7 separate regions of the Homo sapiens genome follow, and regions 2, 3, 4, 5, 6 and 7 are each linked to region 1. The links are contacts of gene promoters, found by promoter capture Hi-C in blood cells and fetal thymus (Javierre and others, 2016). All regions are on one chromosome and are shown on one strand. Each heading gives the region's core, a stretch centred on a gene start or on the middle of the fragment in contact. The rest is flanking DNA. Distances are from core to core; before and after follow the strand shown.

Region 1 (3,769 bases), core at 364-2,863:
AGAAGCGAGACAGGAGGAGCTGGGAAGAAGGGAGGGGGGAAGGAGGAGGTCCCTGCCCAGGGCACAGGGGTGTGAAGCCCTGAGGGGTGCAGGAAACAGACCACCCCCACTAACACACTGGCCTTGGCAAGTCCAAGGAGATGGCCCTAGAGAGGCAGCCTGCCTCACTGGGGCAAGTGAACCACAGAGACACCACCCTGCCTCCTGCCATGCAGGGTATCCACCACGTCCACCCGAATGAAGGTACCTGCCCCAGCTCCCACAGGTCTCCAAGTATAACGTCCGGGAGTCCTCCCAGCCCCCAGCCTTAGAGGGGACACTGCCCTCGGGACCGACCAGAGACCCTGCTCTGTGAATAGCGCCCTTGGCAGTGGGGCTGGCGGGCATCCCTGCAGTTTACCAGCTGGACCCCCTCTCGTGACTGGGGCTCAAGTTCCCTGGTTTCTGGGCAATGTCTAGACTGGCCTTTCCCAGTGTCACAGCCTAGGGAGTGGGCAGGTTCTGCCCTGCCCCCACTCTCCACCTCTACTGAGAGCAATTGAGGGGCTGCCACCCCCAACGCAAGCACCAGAGAGCAAACTCTCTCCTCCCAGGGGCCTGGGAAGTCCAAGCTCCAGAACTGGAACTCAGGGGAAAAAAGGAGCCGGGCGGGGGGAAGAGAGATGAAATCTGAGCTCAGAGAAGCCTGGAGCGGGGCCCAGGGGCTACGGAGGGTCAGTGCCTCTCACGCCCCAGGCGCACTCCCCTGCCACCTGAGTCCCTCTAGGAGCCATGGGTGCCAGGCCAGCCCTCTCCAACTCCCAGAGAGGTAGTAAGTGTAAGGCTCAGAGCCCCGCGCAGCCCAGCCCGCGCCGGGGCGGTGGGTGGGTGGGTGTCTGCTATGGGATTATTCTTAGCGCTCCACTCTCTTCGCAAAAGTGGCGCCTCCGCCCTCCCGGCTCAGGCACACTCGCTCGGGGCTCGCACGCCCGGCCCAGACACCAGCGCGGTGGAGAGCACCGGGTGGGGTCCCCGAAGGGTGAGGCTCGGAGGCGCCGCGGAGGGGGGGCTCCCTAGAGAGGAGGGGGCGCTGCGGGAAGGCCCCCAAGGGAGGCTGCGTTTAACCCTCGACGCCCTGCACCCAGCCCGGCGCGGCGCGCTCAGCCGCCTCCCCGGACTCCTCCCGGGGCGCGGGAGCCCAGCGGCGCGCCCAGCCCTTACCTATGGTGGTGATGACCGTGATCGCAAAGTAGAAGGAGCCGGCGAATTTCCACTGGACGCCGGCGCGGTGCGGTTCCGACTGCAGGATCACCAGCTCCAGCTGCCGGTAGTCCTCGCTGCTGATGTTGTACTTCCCCTTGATCCGGATCTCCTCGGCTTTGAGTTTCTCCTCCTCGCGCATCTCGTGGTCCGACTCGAGGGCGTCGAACACGGCGGCGCCCACCAGCAGGTAGGTGAAGGTGCAGACGATGAGGGACAGAGTCCGCACGTTCTGCCTCTTCATGGCCGCCAGCAAGGAGCCGGCGCGGGGGGCATGTCCCGCAGGCTCACAGCCGCGCGCGTCCCACTGCAGCGCCCGGCGGCCGCCGCCGCCTCCTCCTCCGCCGCCGCCGCCGCCGCCTCCAAGTTGTAAGCGGCGGCGGCAGCAGCAGCAGCAGCAGCGGGGAGGCGGGGGGCGGGGAGGCTGGGGGGGGCCCCCTCCGCTGGGGCCGCCACAGCCACCGCCACCGCGAGGCGGCTGGCGGGGCAGGGGCGGCGCGGGCCCGGGCTCAGCCGAGAAGGCGGACAGGCACAGGAGGCTGCTCGAGCGCCGGGGCCAGGCGTCCGGGAACCCCGACACCCTGCGCCAGACCCGGCCGAAGCAGCCCGCCCCACTGCGCAGGGCCATGCAGGGCGGCCCCGCTGGGTACCGCGCGGGCCTTGCTGCCCTCCGCACCCCGCCCCCCGCTCCCGCGGGAAACGCAGGGACGGGAACCGGAGCCAGAAAGCGGCCGGAGGGCGGCCGCGGGGCCCGGTACCCCTGTGGGTCCAGCTCGCGGGTGGCGGTGCCCAGCAAGGAGCCTGCAGGTCCGCGCGCCCAGCGGAACCTGCTTCCCCTTTTACCCCTCCTCGCCCCCTCTCGGTGGTGGGGAGGAAAAGTTTGCGAAGTGGCGGTGTCTCTGGAGTCCCCTGCAAGCGGGGAGGGGGCCGAGCAGGTGCAGCGGGAGGGGCAGCCCGCTCCCCAAAGGTCCGCGCGCCCAGCGCCCACCCGGGCGCGCGGGTGCGCAGCGGGGTCCCCGCCGGGCGTCGGCCGGTGCGCGAAGTTTGCTCGGCTCAACCCCCAAGGCGCGGGAGCGGGGCGCGGCCCCAGGACGGCAGGGACCGCGATGGAGCGGCTTCGGGGGCGGCCGGGGGACGGCGCGGTGGCGGTCGGCCAGCCCGCTCCTCCGGGGGCGGCGGGCGCGGCGGCGGCGGCGGGAGGGGTCCCGCGGGCCTCGCGGAGCAGCGGGGCGGACGCGGGCGCATGAGCCGCGCGGGGGTCGGGGCCCTCCGGCGTCCGGGCGTCCCGGGAGGCGGCCGCCGCGCTGGTCTGCCCCGGGCGCTACGTGCGTGCGCGCCGTTGGGAGCCCGAATGTGTGTGTGCGCGTGTGTATGTGCGTGTGTGTGTGTGTGTGTGTGTGCGCTTGGCAGCCCCGCTCCGGCGGGAGGGCCTCGGGGAGCGGGGGCCGGGCTACGCCGAGGCCGGGCCTCCCTCCCTCCCTCCCTCCCGCAGCCTCCAGGGCGCGCCACCTCCCGCCTGGTCCCCAGCCAGCTGGCGAGGCTGCTGTGGCAGCTCCCGCTGCAGACCCAGCGCGGCGCAGGGCGCACGCGGAGGGAGCCCGGGAGGGGCGGCCTGAGCCGCCAGGGAGGGGGCGGGGGCGGAGCCGCCGGCGGGTTTTGGCGGGGGATGGGAGGATAAACGCGGCTTCTTGGGTCCTTCTAGCCCCGCTCCCCAAGAGCGCAAGCAGCCCTGGCGGGTGGAGAGTTTGAGGGACTCGGGGTTGGAGGAGGAAAACGGGATTCAGCCAGAGATGGCAGGCTGACAGCTTCAGGCAGATTGGGCAGAGAGTGGGGAGCAGAAGGGGAGGGGGCCATGGGCACACAGGAGAGCGGCAGCAGCGGTTCACGAAGTCTTCCCCACCCCCCACCCCCCACCTAGCCACCCGGCGCGGGAGCGTGTCATTGGCCAGGGACATGGCCTCGTGGAGTGGTGGGGTCCCGAGGGCTGCCTCGGCCCCCTCGCCTCCCAGCGGCACAGCCCGCTTGGGCCAGCACCTGCAGACCCGAGTCGTTTCCCTGGAGAGCGCTAAGGACAGCATGGGCCGCCACTTTTGGAGTCAGGACAGCGGGGAAAGACATCGCAATCCCCCGACCCAGTAACCTCTCTGTTGCTTTACTGAAGGAAAAAAAAAAAATACACACACACACACACACACACACACACACACACACACACACACATATATATATATATATATATATATATAATCACTCTTTGATATATATAATCACTCTTTGGTTCCCCACAGCTGGGCGCAAGGTGCGCCGTGGATGCAGCCCTGAGCCACGCGATAGCCCCCTCGAGACCACCTGGGGTAGGAACACGAGGCTCGGGCTGGGGCGCACCTATTCCCTGCTTCCAGATGAGCCCTCTCCAGGCTTTATCTCCTTCCCATTTTGGCCTCCTTTACCTCCTCCCCCTCCCCGCCCTCTCCCTTTAGGCTATCGAGGGGCTTTTCCTTGACCTTCGGCTTCCTGAATCCCGCCTGGA
Region 2 (3,769 bases), core at 679-3,178, 730 kb after region 1:
GTAATCCCAGCACTTTGGGAAGCCAAGGTGGGTGGATCACTTGAGGTCAGGAGTTCAAGACCAGCCTGGCCAACATGGTGAAACCCTGACTCTACTAAAAATACAAAAATTGGCCAGGCATGATAAAACACACCTGTAGCCCCAGCTACTCGGGAGGCTGAGGCAAGAGAATCGCTTGAACCTGGGAAATGGAAGTTTCAGTGAGCTGAAATCACGCCATTGCACTCCAGCCTGGGCGACAGAGTGAGACTGACTCAAAAAAATAAAAATAAAAAATAAAATAATAAGCTTGTCATGTGTTAACAGTTTTATGAAAAATAATTGTTTTCCAAAACAAAAATAAAGTACTGGAGGAATGGCATTATTTGACATGTTCACACATTTCTTTAATATCAGAGTTAATACAAGTCAGCTGGATCTTCTATCAGCTTCTACATTCAGTCTGCTGTGATGTCAGGCCTAAGTAGCTTGTGGACAACTCCACTGTCCACTTCTGAGAGGCTGAGCATGGAAGAGGCCCACGGCACACAGCACCGTCCTTCTCTGTGTGCCCTTTAGGAGCCCTCCTCATCCAGTCCAGCGCCGCATGGGGAAGGCATATGGGCAGTACCAGTCTTTCTGGAGAAGCACCTGCTGCACATGCCCTAGTCTCAGAGCCCACTGGGAGATGCACAGATTCTCTAATTGATACAATAAGGAGTACTTAGGGAGACAATGCTCTTTCAAGAAAACCAAGTAAAACTATGTCTTTCTCAGCCTGCATAATCCTTTATCTGATTCTCTTTTCTTTTCCATCCCTAATTCTTACTCCCTTTCTTTCCCCACTTCTATTTCCCTAGCCTCTTTAAAAAACTAAATTTAAGTCCATTTTAAGTTTTATTTTGGTTTTTTCTTAAGAGACAAAGTCTCACTCTTGCTCAGGATGGAGTGCAGTGGTGCGATCGTGGCTCACTGCAGCCTTGACCTCCTGAGCCCAAGCGATCCTCCTGCCTCACCCTCACAAGTAGCTGGGACTACAGGCACAGACCACCAAGCCCAGCTAATGTCTTTTTATTTTATTTTATTTTATTTTATTTTGGTAGAAGTGAGGTCTCCCTATGTTGCTCAGGCTGGTCTCCACCCAGTTAATGTTTTTTAATTTTGTTTTGTAGAAGTGAGGTGAAGTAAGATTTTTTTATTTTTTATTTTTTGTAGAAGTGTTGGGATTACAGGCATGAGCCACCATGCCTGGCCGTTTGAAGTATTTCTTATATTTGGCTGGGCACAGTGGCTTATGCCTGTAATCCCAGCACTCTGGGAGGCCAAGGCAGGCATATCAGCTGAGGTCGAGTTCAAGAGCAGCTCGGCCAACATCGCAAAACCCCGTCTCTACTAAAAATAGAAAATTTAGCCGGGTGTGGTAGTGCATGCCTGTAAGTCCCAGCTACTCGGAAGGCTGAGGCAGGAGAATCGCTTGAACCCAGGAGGCGGAGATTGCAGTGAGCCAAGATCATGCCACTGCACTCCAGCCTGGGCAACAGAGCGAGACTCCGTCCCCAAGAACGAAAGAATTTGTTATATTTAATATGTTCTACGGCACCTCGTTAAACTTCTGTTACAGAACTCACCTCATTACTTCATTCCGACTTGTATTATCATAAGTGGCTGACAGGTGTCCTTGCTAAACTGTCAACCTCAACGAAAGAACCCTGTTTTAGTCCTTACCCACACAATGGACTCAGCCAGTCCATCCTCCCAGGACCACCTCCAGGAGGCGCAGTCCCCAAAGGGAAGACCACACACAGACATCCGATTCCACCACGAAGTGTCAGCAACATCTCAGGCAGGGCACCCGCTCTGCCGACTGCTGCGGGGGATCAGAGATGGCTGTGCTTTGAAGTAGGATTTCTTCTTCCCTTTCTTTTAATTTTTAAGATTGACATAGAGTTCACATACCATATAATTCACCCACTTAAAGTGTGCAAGTCAGCAGTTTTTAGTATATTCACAACTGTGCAACCATCACCACTAACTGACTCTGGAACATTTTCATCACCCCAGAAAGAAACCTTATGCCCGTTAACTGTCACTTCCCATTCCCCCTCCTCCCAGCCCCTAGAACCAGTTGTCTACTTTCTGCTTCTATAGATTTGCCTATTCTAGCCACTTCATATATATAGAATCATACAATCTGCGGCCTTTTTCATGCCTGCCTTCTCTCACTTAGCACAAAGTTGTCAAGGTTCATCCGTGCTGCAGTGGTATCACAATTTCACTCCTTTTCATGGCTGAATAATATTCCGCTGTATGCCCATACCACATTTCGTTTATCCATTCATCATGTGACACATGGAGGAGGTTTTGAGGGAGGAGTCTAAGAGGTGAAGATCATGGGGAACGGCATCCAAAGCAGAGGGCAAGGTATACTAAGAACAGAGGAAAAGGGAAAGTGTGGGCAGGGCCTCCTTCAGAGGACGCATGGCAGGGTGGGAGGAGGGCAGCAGATACAGCAGGGAAGCATCCCAGGCCACTGCTCGTGGCAACCAGCACAGGCTGGCTGCTTTTCCTCCCTCATCCCTTCTTTTTGGGGAATTTCTTCTGCCGTTTCCTCTCATTTCTTTTTTTATTTTATTTTATTTTTTTTTGAGATGGAGTCTCGCTCTGTTGCCAGGCTGGAGTGCAGTTGTGCAACCTCTGCTCACTGCAACTTCTGCCTCCTGGTTCAAGAAATTCTGCTGCCTCCGCCTCCCGAGTAGCTGGGACTATAGGCGCGTGCCACCACGCCCAGCTAATTTTTGTATTTTTAGTAGAGACGTGGTTTCACCATGTTGGCCAGGATGGTCTCAATCTCTTGACCTCATATTTGGCCTGCCGTAGCCTCCCAAAGTGCTGGGATTACAGGCGTGAGCCACCGCACCCAGCCTCTCATTTTAATTAACAGTTGAAACAATTACATATCAGATCATCTTCATCAGCTCATCTTACCTCCAAGCCACAGAAAGTCATTCACAGAACGCAGCAGCTCCACCGACATGTGGTAATGCACCAGGGAGTCCTGCAGCATCCCTGCCTGCAGGCACAGGTCCCCCACGTGCTTCCGCATGCGGCCTTGGCACCGCTTCTTGTAATGTCTAGAAAATACATGAAAATGTATCTTTATTACTATACAACTCCCACCCAGAAAGCACTCTGACTAAGCACTATTCAATTCTCTCACTACTAAAAATGCTAAGAAGGCAACTGTAGGCTCTATAATTTTAAGTCAGCAATAATCATTGCCAGTTATGTGAGCTGGAGTGGTCTTAATTTCAAAAATGTACTGCCAAGCAATTTGTTTAAAGGTGATCGGTACGTAAGGACTTCTACCATGTCTTTCACGTAGGCAATGTTACAGTTGGATTTTTCTTTTTAGATTTTCCAGTTGTAACATTAGCATAAGGAAGTTTATGTTTCAGCTTTTTAAAAAAATCAATTATCTTCCACTTCTTAACATCAAACCTCTTATTATTTTATAAAGACAGCTATGCTGAGTCTTATTAGCCAACCATTTGGCTTTAGCAAACAAGACGTTCATCCTCGCTATTTCAGGGCAAGCTTTAGGAAAGCTTCCAGAGAGCAGGGCCTGGGGTGCTCACTAACAGCTCTTTAAATATTGGCAAGGATATACCACTAAATAATGCAAAGGCTTCTGAGTCCCTAATCAACTCAGAAACCAAAGAAACTGTACCAAAGTATTCCTTTTATCATTTTTAAATACATCTAACCTTTAAATGTTATATTTCTTAAGATA
Region 3 (3,769 bases), core at 657-3,156, 670 kb after region 1:
TGTGGTGGCTTTAACTTCCATTTCCCTGAAAACTAATGATGTTGAACCTTTTTCATATGATCACTGGCCACTGGTATATCTTCCTTTGTGAAGCGCTTGTTCAAATCTTCTGACAGTTTTTAAAATTAGATCGTTTGTTTTATTACTGAGTCGTACGAGTTCTGTATATATTCTGAATGCAAGTCCTTAGTTATATGTGTTTTGCAAATATTTCCTCCCGGTCTGTTGCCGATTTATTTCCCTAAGGGAGTGTTCATAAGCAAAAGCATTTCTCTGTGATGTAGCTCAATCTATCAGCTTTTTCTTCTATGGTTAGTGCCTTCTATGTCCTCATCTGAGAAAAATCTTTGCCCGAGGTCACAAAGATATCCTATGTTTTCATCTAGAAGTTGTTGTCTAGGTCTATGGTCCGTGAATATTCAAATTTGAGTAGGACATGGCCTGTCCCTTTCCAGGAGTGTGCAGTACAGCAGCGAACAGAAGCCCCAGTGCTGGAGGACAGCAGCCAGGGACGGGGTGGAAGAGGACTGTAAAGAGGAGGCAGGGGTTGGCCGGGCGCAGTGGCGCACACCTGTAATCCCAGCACTTTGGGAGGCCGAGGCAGGCAGATCACCTGAGGTTGGGAGTTCGAGACCAGCCTGACCAACATGGAGAAACCCCGTCTCTACTAAAAAATACAAAATTAGCCAGGCGTGGTGGTGCATACCTGTAATCCCAGCTACTTGAGAGGCTGAAGCAGAAGAATTGCTTGAACCCAGGAGGCGGAGGTTGCAGTGAGCCAAGATTGTGCCATTACACTCCAGCCTGGGCAACAAGAGTGAAACTCCATGTCAAAAAAAAAAAGAAAAGAAAAGAAAAAAAGAAAAAGAAGAGGTGGGGGTACTTAACGCCTTCATCACAAATCTGGAAATGCCCAGACCTTCAGCTGCACCCACTATGTGCCAGACATGATCAAAGATGTTGGGGCAGAGAAGGGGGCAGAGAAGACGAATACTGATCTTAGCCAGTGCCTGTAAAGAGGTCACCATCTAAAATAAAGGTGACAGCCGGGGAAGGTCACATGCCTTGGCCACCAATGCGTTAGAACTCCCATTGATTCTTTCATGGAACCTATCTAAGATGAAAGGTTGTAAATAATACTATGATCAGTAATAATATTACTTCATTCCTCTTATCATTTCAGTGTAATAAGAAGTCAAATGATAAATACTACATTGCAAATGGAATTGACATCACTTTAAAGCCCTAAAACGGTTCCTTAATGGGAAAAGCTCGAGCGCAACTGCTTTTGGGCACTAGGCAGACAATTGACTGAGAAGCCATGAGCCCAGAGAGCCTCAGGACAAAGCCATGTTTGGTCGACACAGGCACCTATGGCACAAGGAGCCGGGGAGTACAAAATGGTCCCTGGCAAAGCTAGGCCAAGATCCTCAGGAAATCTTGAAATGAGATGAAATCCCCAAACTCATTTCCAACCTGCTGCTCTTTTAGGGCATATTAATCAGCACATCTTTGTTCTAATCTTTCAATAGGCTGCACAGTCACGAAGTCCAAGTTCAGGGCCCAGATGTTTATGTGAGGTTCCAACGAAAGTGGCTCCAAGACTACTCAAGACAAGGAGCTTTATTCACAAGGCAGACTCTGAGGGATCCAAATATTAACTCACCATTCCATTTCCAAGTAGAAAGTAAGTTTAGACCTGCTTTATTCTGTTAATAAGAAATAAAGTGACAAGATCAGAGGGAAACTCCAGACACAGGACTTGTCTCTGGCAGGATGGAGAGGGAGGAATACAGCCTGGAGCTGTAAAGTCCTGAGTTCCAGGGCCACATCTGCATATCCCTAAGAAACAGGGATCATCAAATCTAATTACGATTGTCAAAAAGACTCAATGAAATAATGCAAACACTGAGCATAAGCCTAAAACTCTCAGTGAGTGTTCAAGAAACAGAAATATCACTGTTAGTTAATGCCTTTGACACCACAAGTTCTAACCCCAAGTTAACCAGCCACTGATGCTCTAGAAAATGCCTTAACCCTCATCAGCCTTCTCAAACGTGGGCACTTGCAGTGATCAGAAGAACAAGTCAGTGACAGATGTGTAGGGGCAGCCTGGTGGCCGCACTCAACTAAATGATGACCGTGGGAGAATGCCGGATGGGAAACAGCAGGCCCCACACATTCCCAGGTTTGAAAACACACTCTGCTCCTCTCTCCGGCTATTTCCAGCCATAATTACATGGAGAGAAAATACATCTTCAAAATTATACAAACTTTCCATATATGTCTATCAAAAAAGTTTGTTAAAAACATAACCTACTTTCTCATATCCCGGAGTAGGGGTATGAGGCATGCACCAAGGATTTTCCTTTATAAAGCATCTGTCTAAAGTAATTGGATCCATTTTCAGTTTTAATCATTCAAAAGTAAGAATGAAAACAAAGCAAAACAAAACAAAAACTTCAATAAGACCTGGTCCCTCAAAACTTCATGAAGTAGTAGAGGAGATAGGTCCATAAAGAATCACAGTGTTGGAGGCCGGGCGCGGTGGCTCACGCCTGTAATCCTAGCACTTTGGGAGGATGAGGTGGGCAGATCACAAGGTCAGGAGATCAGGATCATCCTGGCCAACACAGTGAAACCCCGTCTCTACTAAAAATACAAAAAATTAGCCAGGCGTGGTGGCAGGCACCTGTAGTCCCAGCTACTTGGGAGGCTGAGGCAGGAGAATGGCGTGAACTTGGGAGACGGAACTTGCAGTGAGCCGGGATTGCGCCACTGCACTCTAGCCTGGGCACAGAGCAAGACTCCATCTAAAAAAAAAAAAAAAAAAAAAAAAAGAATCACAGTGTTGAGGCCAGGCAACGTGGCTCATGCCGATAATCTCAGCACTTTGGGAGGCTAAGGCAGGCAGATTACCTGAGGTCAGGAGTTCGAGACCAGCCTGGCCAACATAGTGAAACCCCATCTCAACTAAAAATATAAAAATTAGCCGGGCGTGATGGTGGGTGCCTATAGTCCCAGCTACTCAGGAGGCTGAGGCAGGAGAATCACTTGAACCTGGGAGGTGGAAGTTAGCAGTGAACCGAGATCGCGCCACTGCACTTCAGCACAACAAGAGCGAGGCTCCATCTCAAAAAAAAAAAAAAAAAAATCACAGTGTTGGGAAGAAGATGGATGGAGAGATGGCTGAAACAGGGATGCTGTGCCCTATGCCTTGGACAGATACCTGGAAGGTTCCTAGACTACCAGGTATACCCACCACATGCTAGAGGAAGGACACTTTGTAAACAGTCAGTGCCCTTGTTGAGTGCACCATCCAAAAGAGATGGCCAAGCAAAGTCCGCGCTTGACCCCTGATCACCTCAGTTCCAGCCTTTGATTCATTCTTGGATAACCTGAAAAACCCACTCCTTTGGCTTCAAGAAATACTGCCTATTTTACCATCTTTGGGTTTAGTGAGCAAGCGAGTTCATGTGTACTTTAAAGATGATTTGAACTCTGACTACAGCTTTTCTCCACATTCATCTTTCCATACCAGAGTTCTCAGTTTCTTTTTTTTTTCTTCTCTTTTTTTGAGACAGAATTTCACCCTTGTGGCCCAGGCTGGAGCGCAGTGGCGTAATCTCGGCTTACTGCAACCTCTGCCTCCCAGGTTCAAACAATTCTCCCGCCTCAGCCTCCTCAGGAGCTGTGATTACAGGTGCCCGACGCCACACCCGGCTACTTTTTGTATTTTTAGTAGAGACAGGGTTTCGTCATGTTGGCC
Region 4 (3,769 bases), core at 432-2,931, 660 kb after region 1:
TCCAACAGAAAAACACGATGCAGCATACGTATACACACACATACAGTGTACAAACACACATGTGTTCCTTGTAAAAAGAATGTGCTTTTTTTTTTTTTTTGAGCTGGAGTCTCACCCAGGCTGGGGTGCAGTGGCATGATCTCGGCTCACTGCAACCTCCACCTCCCGGGTTCAAGCGATTCTCCTGCCTCAGCCTCCCAAGTAGCTGGGATTACAGGCGTGCACCACCTCGCCCGGTTAATCTTTGTATTTTTAGTAGAGATGGGGTTTCACTATGTTGTCCAGGCTAGTGTCGAACTCCTGACCTCAGGTGATCCGCCCGTCTCACCCTCCCAAAGTGCTGGGATTACAGGAGTGAGCCACCATGCCCGGCCAAGAATGTGCTTTTGAAAAATGTCTGAGGACCCAAGTCAGAATCAACTTCCCCATAAGCAATCACGATGAAGGCAAGGGCTGTGACAACATCACTCACACCTCAGCAGCCATGCACTTGGCATCTAGCCTTTGCCAGGTCCAGCTCCAGGTAGACAGCAGGCAGAATGAGGTTTTCTCCCATGGAGGGAGACAAGCATGGACCAACTAAATACGTAACTGATGACCGACAAGTGCAGGAAGAAAGAGAGCAGAGGCCCAGAGTCCCTGGTCTAGCTAGGGACTTGTGAAGGCTTTCAAGAGGAGGCCAGGCCCAAGAGGAGTCACATGGTGAAGGGGCAGGGTGTGGGGACAGGGGAGGTGCACCGGCCCTGCTGTGGGAAGGAAGGTGTGTGCTGAAGAAGTTCAAGATGCAGCAGACACAGCAGGCGAAGGAGTGACACTGACGGCTCAGGCGAAGGGCTCAGGGCCGTGTCACCACAACTCACCAACCGTGGGGACTGTGCTTACTGAGGTGAGGTATGTGGGGACACTGCCACCAGGAGAGAACAGAGTCCTGGCTACAGGGGCAGAGGGACATGCCATGGGTCAGGGATGGCACCCGAGATTCTAAGCCCCTACACAGAGTCCAGGCACTACCTCTTTAGATTTGCTGGATCACGGGGAGGCTCAAGAAATTCCAGGGGAGTAGGGGAGGTGGGCAGCACTCCCAGGGGCTGGGGAGAGCAAACATTCACTCGAGCAGGTAACACCAGACCACTGCCCAAGCCGCCACTGAGCCACAGTCACCCCAGCAGGAGACACGGGTGGCTCTGGGAGCTCTGCCTCGGCCTGCTGCTCCCTCCCGTCACCGAAACGCCGGAGTGCAAATGGGCCATGGAGCCAGCTTCCACGGTGGCCCTGCTGGCCACCTGCTCACTCTGCAGGTACAATCAAGAAAAGCACAGTTCAAATGCAGCCCCAAAAGCAACAGCGACCCAATACACGCAGAAAAGGAGCTGCACGGCTGTCGCAGGGGCCCCGGTCAGAGCAGAGATTCACTTGGGTCACCAGAAGTCCTCAACAGAAAACAACAGCTACTCCACACGAGGATGCCAACGGCCACAATAAGTGGTGTGTGCCTTCAGAACCTTGGCAACAAAGAACCACAGGGGTTCACGAAAGGAGAATTCCTTTCTCTTAGAGATGGCCGTGGAAATCACTGTAGGGAAATCAATGTTTCCTTTAAAGAATGCTAGTGTTTCAACAGGTGCAGTGAGAAGATGGGCTTTATGAGGACTGCTTAATGTATACTAGGTTTCTTTCTTTCTTTTTTTGAGACAGAATTTCACTCTTATCGCCCAGGCTGGAGTGCAATGGCGCAACATTGGCTCTCTGCAAGCGCCACTCCTGGGTTCAAGTTATTCTCCTGCCTCAGCCTCCTTAGTAGCTGGGATTACAGGGGCCTGCCACCATGCCTGGCTAATTTTTTGTATTTTTAGTAGACACGGGGTTTCACCATGTTGGCCAGGCTGGTCTCGATCTCCTGACCTCAGGTGATCCGCCCACCTGGGCCTCCCAAAGAGATCGGATTACAGGAATGAGCTACCACATCCGGCCAGAATTAGTGCATTTAAACCTCACAACCACCCTCAGAGATGCACACCCCACGTTACCCTGGAGCCAGAGCCTGCTCAAAGACAGAGAACAGCCAGGGGAAAGCAGTGGGTGGAGGGCTGGAGAGAAAGATGTGCTGCTTTTAGAAATGTGAAAACAGAGAAGCACGAAATTTGGGAGGTGCCAGGACATGAGACTGAGGGAGTGGGGTCGCCACCTGGACAGCAGCAGTGACGGCACAGCACTGCAGGGGGCAGTAATGAGTCGCCCAGACGGCCTGCAGGGAGGAGAGGCCCGTTCCCCAGGGGAGAGTGCTGCCTCCCCAGAAGTTGTCCTTGACGGGCAAGAGCCCTTCATCAAGACCCTACCCTTTCCTGGGAGCAGTGAGCACCCAGGGCCTGGCACGGGGACAGGAAGCCCCGGCCCTCCCATCGCCAGAGATCTCTCCGACGGCTTCCCAGCTGCACAGGCCCTGCTGGGTCAGCAGAAGCCTTGTCTCCTTGCTGAAGAGAACCACATCACCCAGGGTAGACTGCATTCAACTGCTGGTCAGTGAGGGAGGAGAATGGCCCGGCCCCCTCAGAACAACATGGGACACGTCTGCAGGCCACGGCAGTGCAGGGCTCCCCGTGCAGCTGAGGCCTGTGTCCATATAGCACTGAGGCCCAGCTTCTCCCACTGTCCAGTCTCGCCTCCATCTCTTCCCTTCTACGGGGCTGATCCCATGAGTACGTCCCAATACACTCTGCACACATCAGTCTCCCCAGCAGACAGCACTTCCCCAAGAACCCAGCTGGCACCACACACTGGGCCAGGGCCAGGGGTACAAGGAGGAAGGCAGGTTTGGGGCAGCTGAGCCCCAAGCGCGTAGGGAAACAGGTCATGACTAAAACTCAAAAAGCAGATAGCACCCAGGAGCAGTGTAAGAAGAGAAGATGAAGGCCAAGAAAGGAGCCCGGGAGAAAGGCAACCTTGAAACAGGGGCAGAAACACCGCGTGGCCCCATGAGAGCCAACACATGCAAACCTCATCTTTGGTTCTGGAAGGGGGGATGGAGTTACCCAGTGACTCGAAGGGGCACGAGGGGCCCTGGGTTCTGTTCCTGCCCGTCTCTGATCTGGGTGTTGATTATAGCGGTGGCCACTTGGTGAGAATTTACTGAGCCACATTCCTATGAGTCGTGCACTCCTCTATGTAAATGTTATGCTTTGACATTTATATTTTTAAAAAGGCAGGCTAAGGAAATGGGAGGCAACACAGGAGGCTGAAAAGAAGCCTGAGAGGTGGAGGGAAAAGCCATGGAGTGTGGCGGCCGAGGAGCAGGAGGAGATGGCGTGAAGGCGGGAGGAGGTGGCACAGGTGTCCCAGAGAAGTGAGTGTGGAAGGAGGGAGCCAAGGCATGGGGCAGGGACCTTGTCACTGACGAAGAGCTGGGCAGCATCTTCCACCCACTGAAACCCAAGCCCAGGGTTTACATGAACCAGCATCTAAAGTGCTCTCATTCACAGTTCCTTGAAAAAAAACATTGTGGTTTGAGCTCACTCACCCTGATCCGACAAGAAGTCCAGCATGGTCTGTAGAAGGAAGGACAGGTGTCTGACAGAGAGGGCAGGGTTCCCCATCCTTCGGGAGGCGTAGACCAATTCATGGAGCAAACGCATCTGGACCGCAGCCCAGCCTCTGTGCGTGCCTGCGATGGAAGTTACAAAACATCACAAAAGTGCTTGGAGAGGGTACAGGAAATACGGTTAATCTAAGTTGTAAAACTTGGCAATTTGAAGACAGATGCCTCAACCACCAA
Region 5 (3,769 bases), core at 885-3,384, 630 kb after region 1:
ACTAAAATAAAAAATTTTAAAGTTTTAAAAAAATAAAGATAATAAATTATTAGAATCTGCACATCTAACTATGAAGCAATGGTTAGATAAACTATGGTACAGCAGCATAATGCAAATTTATGCAAACATTAAAAATGACATTTATAAAGACTGCAACAATATGGAAAATGTTATGTCACATGGAAAATCAGGATACAGAATTATATTTACAAAATAAATTCGATGTAAGGAATTAACCCGCCTGGGCACAGTGGCTCAAACCTGTAATCCCAGAACTTTGGGAGGCCAGGTGGGAGGATCACGAGTTCAAGACCAGCCTGGTCAACATCGTGAAACCCCCAACTCTACTAAAAATACGAAAATTAGCCGGACACAGTGGCACATGCCAGTAGTCCCAGCTACTCCAGAGACTGAGGCAAGAGAATCACTTGAACCCGGGAGGCAGAGGTTGCAGTGAGCCGAGATCATACCACTTCACCCAAGCCTGGGCTAAAAAGCGAGACTTTGTCTCAAAAAAAAAAAAGAGAAAAAGAAAAGAATGAAAAGAAAGAAAGCAATTAACCCAATTTTTAAAATAACAGAAAACAATACAAAAGAAATACACTAAAATGTTAACAGGGCTTGCCTATATAGGATTATGCATAATTTTTTCCTGTTTATGTTTTCCAAGATTTCTAAAGGAAGCATATATTACTTGTATAATAAAAACTATATATATGTAGATAGCTAGATATAGATATAGATGTAGATATAGATATAGATACATAGGTTTTTGTTTTGTTTGTTGTTGTTGTTGAGACGGAGTCTCACTCTTGTCGCCCAGGCTGGAGTGCAATGGTGCGATCTCAGCTCGTTGCAACCTCCGCCTCCCAGATTCAAGCTTCTCCTGCCTCAGCCTCCTCAGTAGCTGGGATTACAGGCACCCACCACCATGCCCAGCTAATTTTTATACTTTTAGTAAAGACGGGATTTTGCAATGTTGGCCAGGCTGGTCTCAAACTCCTGACCTCAGGTGATCCACCCGCCTCAGCTTCCCAAAGTGCTGGGATTACAGGCGTAAGCCACCGCGCCTGGCCATAAAAACTATATTTTAAATGCTCAAAATTGAATTTTCAAAAAGGTTTTACAACGAAAAATCAGGGTTTGTTTATAAATGCCCCATGAGTGAAGAACATAGTATCATAAAATGTCAATGGCATAAGAAAACTTTGAACTTCCTTCATTTCCACAAAGGTGGAAGTTTAAAGTAAGGGAATTTATAGCCCTTCCCAGTGTAACACAGATGTTTTACAAACAACAGCTGCATTGATAACTGACATTTAATGAGGTCTTACTACATGCCAAGCACTAGTCCAAGCACTTTACATATGCCTTACTAAATGATTCCCAAAACCTTACCAAAAAAGTGCCATTGTTTACAGATGAGAGAAATTGAAGCTTAGAAAGAACTCACCCCCATTCAGTTCAGTGTGCCTTCTACTTCTCCACCACAATCTCTCATGTGTAATATGCTCAGCCATCTCCCTTTATTCTAAAACTATTTCATATTTCACTTCATATTCATTTGACAAACAAATCTTGAATATCCACCCTCTATAAGGAAGAAGCCTATCTTAAATCGCTCAACTGGAGTCCCACATCTTCAAGCACAACAGCAAAATCTCGTAATTCCTTTGTCTGCCTGGTGGAGTCTCAATTGATACATTTTAGGAAATAATTTGAGAAAGGCAATGTGAAATTAAATCAGTTCCATGGCTCGGCAAGGTGGCTCACGCCTATAATCCCAGCACTTTGGGAGGCCAAGGCAGGAGGATCACTTGAGGTCAGGAGTTCGACACTAGCCTAGCCAACGTGGTGAAACCCCATCTCTACTAAAAATACAAAAATTAGCCAGGCGTGGTGGCACATGCCTGTAATCCCAGCTACTCGGGAGGCTGAGGCAGGAGAATCGCTTGAACCCGGGAGGTGGAGGTTGCAGTGAGCCGAGATCGTGCCATTGTACCACAGCTTGGGCGACAGAGCGAGACTCTGTCACTAAATAAATAAATAAATAAATAAATAAATAAATAAATAAGTTCCACATGTATTGACTACTTTCTAGTAGCATTGCCCAAAATGATAAAAGATAAAAGGTGAACAGACATGATCCCTGTCCCCAAGGAGTCTGTAATCTAGTGAGGGAATCGGATAGGTAAATTATTCTGAAGGTATAATAAAATGATGCTGAATTGAGAACTAAGCAAGATAATAAGGAGGTGCAGAGGAATAAATTAATTTCTTAATAACAGGAAACAGGGAAAGTACAAGAACAGAGCATGCTACAATAGAAGCAGCATGAAAAACCATGTGATACACTTAAAAAGCAAAAAATGTTCAGTGTATCTGAAGTATAGGTTACATGGATAGAAAAAGTATGCAATGAGCCTAGAAAGATGGTTTGACTCAAATCGTGAATGTCCTTGAGAAAGATGGTTTGAATCAAATCGTGAATGTCCTTGAGAAAGAGTTGAGACTTTACTAGATAGACAAAGGGTAGACACTGCAGATTCTTAAGGAAGAGAATGTGATTTAGCTTGCATTCTAAGGAGGTAACTCCGGCCGCAATGTGACGCACAGGCTGGAAGGAGCAAAGCCAGGGAACAGGACCATGATGTCAAGAGTCTACTGCACTATTCCAAGTATAGGTGTTGAGAGTCTGAACCACAGTCATGACCACGATGGGAAGAGGGGAAATCCCCACATGAGAGAAACTCAGGCATTAGAATGGGCATTCCAGGCAATTAATAGGATACAGGATAAGTATGACAACTTGGGGATGACTGACAAAGTTTTAAGCTTCCCACACTAAGAAAATGCCAACACCCTTAACTCAAACGGGAAACATAGAAGGAAAAGAGAATGAATTCAGCTGAGGATATGGTAACCGCAGGATCCTATGAGACATTCAGGAGACAAATCCAGCCTTCATTGGGAAACTGAAGTTCAGAGGTCAGGAGTGGAAATATAACCATGTGAAATCATGAGCAAATTTTTGTTATATTTTGAATATATCAAGAGCTTCACTCTTAAGTCCCATCATAAGTCTTCACAATTTTTTTTTTTTTTTTTTTGAGACAGGGTCTCGCTTTGTCACCCAGGCTGGAGTGCAGTGGCGTGATCCCAGCTCACCAAAACCTCCACCTCCTGGGTTCAAGCGATTCTCCCGCTTTAGCCTCCCGAGTAGCTGGGATTACAGGCTCCCGCCACCATGTCTGGCCAGTTTTTGTATTTTCAGTAGATCCAGGGATTTCGCCATGTTGACCAGGCTGGTCTCAAACTCCTGACCTCAAGTGGTAGGCCCGCCTTGGCCCCACAAAGTGCTGGGATTACAGGTGCAAGCCACCGCACCTGGCCAACAATATTTTTTAACTTTATAATCTCAATGACTCACTGTGTAATTCCTTATTTTTAAGAACCTTTTTTTTTCACAACTCAAATTATTACTTTTGATGTATAACTAACTTCATAATTTTTGAAACCAAAATTTCTTTTCCATCTGCTCAGTTTTCTCCCCCATGATGAAGCATACTTGTGTGTCACGTCCCTGAGGTCACGGGACTTAACAATTACAGTAAAAGCCCCTTGTTTATTTATGACATAATGATCACAGTTACAACAACAAAAGATTTTGTTCAACAGATATTCCTACTGTGTATAGTCTGTGGCTGCAAGCCAGCCGAGATTCCCAACCCTGGCTTGCCTCTGTCTGCACCACGCTCTGCTCTGCGGC
Region 6 (3,769 bases), core at 470-2,969, 610 kb after region 1:
ATCCACTGTCCATCCTCTCCCCATCTCCCTTCTCCCAACCATCCCCAGACTCTTCTAACCTCTATTCTGCTAATTCCATGAGACAAACGTTTAAAAATTTCACACCTGAGGAAGACCATGAGGGATTTGTCTTTCTGTGCCTGGCTTTTTTCACTTAACATATGCCCTCCAGGTCCATCTGTGTTGTTGCAAATGACAGGATTTAATTCTTTTTTATGGCTGAATGGTATCCCACTGTGTATCTATATCACATTTTCTTTATCCATTCATCTGCTGAATGGCACTTAGGTTGATTCCGTATCTTGGCTATTTGAACAGTGCTGCAATAAATGCAGGCATGCAGTCACCCCTTCGACACTGACTTCATTTCCTTTGGATATATGCTCAGTAGCGGAATGGAAGATCATACAGTGGTTCTATTTTTAAGTTTTTTGAGGAACCTCCATACTGTTTAACATAATGGCCGTACTAATTTACATTCCCACCAATAGCGTGTAAAGAACCCCTTTTCTTCACCTCCTCACCAACATTTCATCTTTTGACTTTTTGATAATAGGTATTCCAGCTGGAGAAAGGTGATCTCTCATAGCGGTTTTCATTTGCATTTCCCTGATGATTAGTGATGTTAAGCATTTTTTCATACATCTTTTGGCCATTTGTATGTCTTTTTTTTTTTTTTTTTTTGGTGGGCATGTGAGATTTAAGGGCTGATTTTGAGAGATAAAATAAGTTCAGTTTCTCTATAAATTAATCATTATTGTCAAAGACACACTGATGCAAGACCAGCATATGAGCCCCTGTGTCAGATTAACAAGGTCTTCTTGAAGCATTAACCAACTCCTTAGTAAAGGTTATAAAGATTATAAAAAGCTTATGAAAGTTATATCTTGTGTTCAAGATTAAAATTTTATAGTTTATAAAATTTTGAAAAACAAATTTAATTGGTTTCATGCTATTTTATTAGGAAATATTGTTTGGAAAATTAAGGCTTCTTTCTCAAAGAACGAAGGTTTTCACCTTTCTAAAAAAATCCTTGAGTTATTACTTTGGTCAAATGAATGACTTATTTTACAATGATCTGTGATATAAGTGTTTTAAACCTTTGACCTTTCCAAAATCAAATTATAAATTATATCTTTTTCTGAACTAATTAATCCTTTAAGATACTAGGTTCCCTAAAGTCCAAAAGTGACATAATTTGTCTTATTTGGTATAAAAATTACACAGGAAACACTGTCAAATATGAAATGGTGTTTAGTTTTCTTTAGGCTATATTTACACAAATATGTTATTGGTATGTGTTCCAAAATCATGGGAAACTCCTATAATTCTGATATGACTTAGTGTACATTATCAGTAATAATTATAATTGTTATGTTAAATTATTGTGTGCCACAGAGGTAACAAATTTCCTTATGGATTGTATCTTTGACTATGGCTGCCCTAAAACCTTTTGTCATCCACAGACAATTGTTGTCTGTTTTGGTCTTTAGAAGGTGGTTTTATAATCAGCTATAAAACTCTACCAGGTGCTGTTGAATACAAGTTTCTGATAACTTTGGAGACTGTGACATCAGAATAGAAGAAAAACTTTCAGGACTCATGGAGAACTGAAATGTTCAGGAATATCAAGCAGAATGGGAATTAACTACAGACTGAACTAATACAAGACTGAAGTAATCTTTTTGATTTTTTGCTTAAAACGTTGCTGGTCCTTTGTTTTTTCAGAGTCAAGGAAACTTTTCTTTTGAGCTATTAACAGCTTTTAATGATTGAGTGTACTCCTATGAACAAAATTTAGAACATATTTGTTTCATTCTACCTGACTCTTCCAGAATTTGGAAACTATTTGTGAGTATTCTTAACACCTAATTTGTTGAGAGTTTTTATCATGAAGGGATGCTGAATTTTGTCAAATGCTTTTTCTGCTTCTATAGAAATGATAATATGGTTTTGGTTCTTCATTCCGTTAATGTGATATGTCACATCTATGTTCAACCATGTTCGCATCCCTGGGATGAATTCCACTTGATCATGGTGGAAGATCTTTCAAATGTGCTGTTGAATTTTGTTTGCCAGTATTTTGTGGAAGATTTTTGCATCTAATCTTCATCAGGGATATCTGTCTTTTGAGATTAGTTTTCTTTTGTTGATGGTGTGTCTTTCTCTGGTTTTAGTATACCAAAGTAATGCTGGCTTCACAGAATGAGTTTGGAAGTAGTTTGAGAAAAATTGGTACTAGTTCTTTGTTAAATGTTTCAGCAGTGAAGCCCTCAGGTCCCGGGCTTTTCTTTGATGGGAGACTTCTTATTACTGATTCAATTTTCTTATTCGTTTTTGGTCGTTCAGATTTTCTATTTCTTCATGATTCATTCTTGGCAGATTGTATGTGTCCACGCAGTTATCCACGTCTTCTAGGTCACTGAGTTTGTTGGCATATAATTGTTTGTAATAGTCTCTTGTGATCTTTTATGTTTCTGTGTTATCAGTTGTAAATTTCTCCTTTTTGATCTCTGATTTTATTGATTTGACATTTATTCTTTTTTTCATAATCTAGCTAAAGGTTTGTTAAGCTTTTCAAAACACCAGCTCTTCATTTCATTAATCTTTTGTATGGTTTTTCTCATCTCTATTTCATTTATTTCCACTCTGATCTTTATTATTTCCTTCTTTCTACTAACCTTGGTTGAGTCTGTTCTTGTTTTTCTAATTCCTTAAGATGCAGTGTTAGACTGTTTATTTGAAAGCTTTCTTCTTTTTTGATGTAGGCACCATCTTTGGCCAGTGGGAGTCCCTTCTGGTTGGTTCCTGTGTCCTTTGGATAAGGTCCCATTATTCTTTGATCCCTTTGTTTCTGGTTCATATCCAGCCCCAGGCCTAGAATTAAATCACTTCTCCAAGGAGCTCTCATTCCCTTTAGTGGAAAGAAGTGTTTAGAGACTAAAACCCAGAGGCTAGAAGTGCTCTTTGCTACTGGATTCTCATGGTCTCTGAAGGGCTTTACAAAGGACAGGACAACTTACAAAGTTTTCACAGTGATAAGATTATAAGTGATTTCTGCTTTAATTTTTTTTTAAGTTTAACAACGAAAAATAAAAGATTTGGACTATAAGCTCCTTAAAAGGAAGAAAGTCATGTCCCTACCCACAATTACATTTACTGAGCACTTACGATGTGCCAAATATTGTACTATGTTCTTTAGACTATAAAATCTTTAAGGCAAGGGATTCTGGTATATATTAATAACAAACTTCATTATTTTTTATCCAAAATAGGCATATAATACCCTCTTACAAAATACCTGCCAAAGAAGTGGGGAAAGGCATTATGATCCCCCTTTTAAAGTTCATAAAGATGAACTCAGGAACAACCCTGGACATTTGATTATGGATTGGTATCAAATGTCACCAAAAAATAATTATTAATGTTTTAAGTATAATATTGTAGTTATATAAGAAAATGCTCATTTTTTAGCAATGCATACTAAAGTATGAAGGTCTGAAATGATATGTCTCCGAGATTTTCTTTAAAATAATTCAGCAAATTTAAAAAGCAAGAGATGAAGTAAATGTGTAAAAGTCTTGATAACCACTGAATCCGGGTGATGGATATATGAGGATTCATTTTACAATTCTTTTTACCTTTATGTTTGAAAATGTTTCATAGCAATAATTTTTATTATATTTTGACAAATTATCATTGCATGTATTTATAGGATACAAAGTGTTATGATTTTTAATACAATGTGAAATGACGAAATCAAGCTAAC
Region 7 (3,769 bases), core at 649-3,148, 590 kb after region 1:
ACCACAAAGACCTATCACAAATGACAGAAGGCCTTCAACCCAACACACTCAAGCTGAGGCCAGTGTTGCAGTCATCTTTGCATGGATGTAGCTCAGATGATGGCCACACCAGCCAACACACAAAGACTCGTGAACTATCCCAAGTTAAAGTGGAAAATGGTCTCAAACACTACCCTCAAGAGTTTCTTCATCTCCAAAACCCTATGCCACCTGCTGTGATGATACCTCCCCCAATTATACACCGAGGTTCATTTAGAGAGACTGGAAATTTAGGTTAAAGTTATGTGATCTGTCAAGCTTCTGCACAAGCACTCACTGATCAGTACACTGCCAAAAAGATATTAGAAGCTATGGGATATAAATTGCATTTTCCTACCAAACAAATAATGTGCATTTTGGCTGAAACTTGCGTTATATCTCAGAAAAAAATCTTACATCATCCACTGAATTTGTCCTCAGCCCAGATGAGCAGGTACTTCTTACTATGGTGAGAAGCCATACTATAAAGAAAAAAGGCCCTGGGCATCGAGTCCTGCAACCTGGCATGGAGCCCGGGGAATGTCACTGATAAGCTATCTGACCTGGGGCAGGTACTTAAATTTCGTTCAGTCTTAATTTTCTTATTTGCAAATAGGGAATATAATAATGCCGGCAGCATCAGCATCAAATAGTTTTGAGAATCACTGGATAATGTTTGCTTAAGCCCTCTTCAACAAATACAGATTGTAATTTTCACAAAAGGAATCTTTGACAATGTCTTTTTATTTGTTTTTTGAGGTAGGGTCTTGCTCTGTCACCCAGGCTGGAGTGCAGTGGTACAATCTTGGCTCACTATAGCCTCGACCTCCCAGGCTCAGGTGATTCTCCCACCTCAGCCTCCCAACTAGCTGGGACCACAGGTGCCCGCCACCAGGCCTGGCTATTTTTTTGTATTTTGTGTAGAGATGGGGTTTTGCCATGTTGGCCAGGCTGGTCTCGAACTCCTGGGCTCAAGCAATCCACCAGCCTCAGCCTCCCAAAGTGCTGGGATTACAGGCGTGGGCCACCACACTCGGCCAACAATTTCTTAAGATTGAAAAGGAAAAGCAGAGAGGCAGGGCCTACAATCCATGCCATCAGTGGCACAGGGCCCTGTGCCCTGGCATCTGGGTTCACGCTCTGCTGTTGCTGTCTTCGAATTCCTAGTGATGTTTGAACAAAGGCCCTATGTTTGCATTTTGCACTGGGCCCCACAAATCACATGGCCCATCCTGAGAAGAGGAGTCTCACACCTCCAGTCTCCTAAATCACCTCTGGAAGTTTTTCTCAACGAAAGAACTGAAGCTTTCCTCAAAAGTTCCGTAGGGGAGACAGTTCATCACCAACCCCAATGAGAACACAAAAGAGCAGCCAGAGACTCTAGAAGGTCCCAGGGGGAAGAGCCTGAGCACTCGTAGGACAGCAAGTCCGGGGCCAGGGGAGACAGAGGAGCCCTGAGGGTGGCCTGCCCATCCCCACGGAGCTCGGAAGACGCCCTCCAGAGAGGAAAGGTGGAGTTCCCACAGGAGGCCAGGAAACGACGTCCCCAAAACACAGTGAGGACAGGATTTGTACAGCTCTCTCCTGCTTACCGCAACACACGCTGGAGCACATCTGGGGCTGCCATCAGGCCCTGCCTGTTCATCCACCACGTCTACCCAGCGCCTACACTTCCTGTCACCTCATGTTCTCCAGATCAGAGAAGCAGTGGCAGGAGAGACAAGATTGGGGTGTCTTTCAGAATCAATAGACTAAAAATGGCATTTTAAAAACGCATACACACACACACATGCATGCACACACTCATACACACACATGCATAGACACACACACATACACGCATACACACAATATACACATGCATACACACATACAGATGCATACACATATACACACGCATACACACACATACACACATACAGATACACACAAATTCTAGAGTAGATTATATAGTTAGTGCTCACATTTTCAGAAATTTTCCAAAATACAGTATTGACTGCAGTTTTTCAAGGGCATGACCCCATGTCTCTTTATTTTCTTCTCATTCTAACAGTGAACAGCTAGAACAGCTGGAGCCACTCCTTGCAAAGCCCACACGGCTCCTCAGATGGAGGCTGTGTCTGAGCCTCCAGAGGGCTTCCCCAGGGTCTGCGGGGCCCCCACCCCACACCCCACTCCCAGTTAGCCCAGTGTTTATTGTTCATTCGAGTTCAACGTGTAAGTAACCAGGTACCCCTGCTGACAGATGTACAGTTTTAGAGAGCGTTTATTCACATTTAGTCTCGATAGTCAACTTCTCACGTTTGTGTCTTGCCTGCATGAACTAAACTGAAAAACCAGCCGAGGGTGAGGACTGTGAGGTCCAGGTAATAGGTCTGTCCCACACCTACTGTGCACGTGAGAGGAAACCATAGGGTACTAATGGGAACAGGACACGTGGTCTGTGATGTGAAATCAAGCTTGTCACTAACTGAGTAACTTTTAGTTACTTCTAAAAGTCGTTTCTCTAAGTTTGTTTCCTCATCTGTAAAAGGGAGATAAAAATGAAATCTCCCAAAAATACTGGAAAAACTAAATAAGGTAACATATGATAGCCTCTTATAAAGCACAACTAGAATAAAAGAAATGATTACCATTTTTAAAAGCACAAGGTTCTTTGAGTACTCCTACCCTAGTTATGCCCTTTATCTCAGCAAACAACTTTATTTCCTCTGAAGCACTTTATTTTTTAAGGCATTCGGATAATTTACAAATTGTTAATGAAGTTTATTATGAGACCCTTACAGAAGCTAAGAAATCCTAGAGCTAGTAATATATGAGAAATGCTCATCAAGACAATGTGCTGGCTGGACGCAGAGGTCCCCACCTGTAACCCCAGCTCTCTAGGAGGCCGAGGCAGGGGATTCACTTGACCCCAAGAATTCGAGACCAGCCTGGGCAACATGGCAAAACTCCGTCTCTACAAAAAATACAAAAATCAGTGGGTGTGGTAGTATGCACCTGTGGTCCCACCCACTCGGGAGGCTGAGGCAGGAGGATCAACTGAGCCCAGGAGGTTGAGGCAGCAGTGAGTCCTAATTATACCACTGCACTTCAGCCTGGGTGACAGAGCTAGACCCTGTCTCAAAGAAAAAAAAAAGATGATGTGCTACACGTAATGCTCTTATTGTCCCTTCTGCCTTGAATTCCACCATGCCCTGCCAGGAACATGAAATGTACAGTGAGATCTAGGTTCTCCTGTGAGTTCTTGGACATGACACTTAAACGTCGTGAATCAGTTTCCCCGTCAACAAAATCTATAAAATGGGATTCATAATATGTACCCCATCCATTCATTCATTCTTTTGTCACTGCTCCAGGTGCTGGGGAGACAGCAGCTGCACACAGCCTGACAGAATTCTGGGCTTCAGGTGATATTGCAGGACAAAGCATCAATGGGCCAGTGTGGGTTTGAGCTGGAGAGAAGCTGGGAAGAGAATCCCAGACAGCACCGCTAGAGATGGTGGGAGGAGTGGCCTGCAAGGCGCTGGGATCAGAGAACACCCCTCTGAGGGAGGGGGCATTTGAACAGAGACCAAAAGGATGTGACAACAAGAGAGCCAATGATAGAGGGGCAGGGGACGAGTTCCTGGCAAAGGAAAGAGCGAGCCCCAAAGCCCTGGGCTTGGAACAAGCCTGTTTCTTTCCACGACCAGAAAGGAGTCCCTGTAGCTAAACCAGAGTGATGGTGGCAGGAGGTGGCATGAAAACC

The links. Contacts are between HindIII fragments. The CHiCAGO score rates a contact against its expected background, and 5 or more counts as called.
Region 2: a contact is called between a fragment that was not itself captured here and the fragment with the promoter of KCNK9 in region 1, in 3 of 17 cell types (megakaryocytes, monocytes and fetal thymus). The highest score is 7.0, in megakaryocytes.
Region 3: a contact is called between a fragment that was not itself captured here and the fragment with the promoter of KCNK9 in region 1, in 1 of 17 cell types (megakaryocytes). The highest score is 6.1, in megakaryocytes.
Region 4: a fragment that was not itself captured here is called in contact with the fragment with the promoter of KCNK9 in region 1 in 7 of 17 cell types (megakaryocytes, fetal thymus, M2 macrophages and 4 more); the score reaches 9.0 in megakaryocytes.
Region 5: a contact is called between a fragment that was not itself captured here and the fragment with the promoter of KCNK9 in region 1, in 2 of 17 cell types (fetal thymus and megakaryocytes). The highest score is 5.6, in fetal thymus.
Region 6: a fragment that was not itself captured here is called in contact with the fragment with the promoter of KCNK9 in region 1 in 3 of 17 cell types (erythroblasts, M2 macrophages and naive B cells); the score reaches 6.3 in erythroblasts.
Region 7: a fragment that was not itself captured here is called in contact with the fragment with the promoter of KCNK9 in region 1 in 4 of 17 cell types (naive CD4 T cells, M2 macrophages, M0 macrophages and 1 more); the score reaches 5.4 in naive CD4 T cells.

What each region holds. Positions count from the first base shown.
Region 1 is chr8:139,701,510-139,705,278 of GRCh38, forward strand. KCNK9 (potassium two pore domain channel subfamily K member 9) reads right to left here and starts at 1,614. Exons shown (of 2, transcript NM_001282534.2): 1 at 1,201-1,614. The coding sequence starts at 1,483. RefSeq lists a silencer at 1,337-1,631. The HindIII fragment of the contact is 15,596 bases long and covers 1-3,769 here.
Region 2 is chr8:140,436,088-140,439,856 of GRCh38, forward strand. TRAPPC9 (trafficking protein particle complex subunit 9) reads right to left here. Exons shown (of 23, transcript NM_001160372.4): 3 at 2,965-3,110. Among named protein-coding and RNA genes, the nearest start is that of TRAPPC9, 20 kb to the right of the region's middle. The HindIII fragment of the contact is 3,285 bases long and covers 287-3,571 here.
Region 3 is chr8:140,373,739-140,377,507 of GRCh38, forward strand. The region is part of intron 7 of TRAPPC9 (trafficking protein particle complex subunit 9); the gene reads right to left. Among named protein-coding and RNA genes, the nearest start is that of TRAPPC9, 82 kb to the right of the region's middle. The HindIII fragment of the contact is 8,881 bases long and covers 1-3,769 here.
Region 4 is chr8:140,356,536-140,360,304 of GRCh38, forward strand. It overlaps TRAPPC9 (trafficking protein particle complex subunit 9), which reads right to left. Exons shown (of 23, transcript NM_001160372.4): 9 at 3,515-3,658. Among named protein-coding and RNA genes, the nearest start is that of TRAPPC9, 99 kb to the right of the region's middle. RefSeq lists a silencer at 2,247-2,306. The HindIII fragment of the contact is 4,499 bases long and covers 1-3,769 here.
Region 5 is chr8:140,332,615-140,336,383 of GRCh38, forward strand. The region is part of intron 9 of TRAPPC9 (trafficking protein particle complex subunit 9); the gene reads right to left. Among named protein-coding and RNA genes, the nearest start is that of TRAPPC9, 120 kb to the right of the region's middle. The HindIII fragment of the contact is 1,398 bases long and covers 1,436-2,833 here.
Region 6 is chr8:140,314,569-140,318,337 of GRCh38, forward strand. The region is part of intron 9 of TRAPPC9 (trafficking protein particle complex subunit 9); the gene reads right to left. Among named protein-coding and RNA genes, the nearest start is that of TRAPPC9, 140 kb to the right of the region's middle. The HindIII fragment of the contact is 1,703 bases long and covers 869-2,571 here.
Region 7 is chr8:140,295,509-140,299,277 of GRCh38, forward strand. The region is part of intron 11 of TRAPPC9 (trafficking protein particle complex subunit 9); the gene reads right to left. Among named protein-coding and RNA genes, the nearest start is that of TRAPPC9, 160 kb to the right of the region's middle. RefSeq lists an enhancer at 3,545-3,769. The HindIII fragment of the contact is 1,154 bases long and covers 1,322-2,475 here.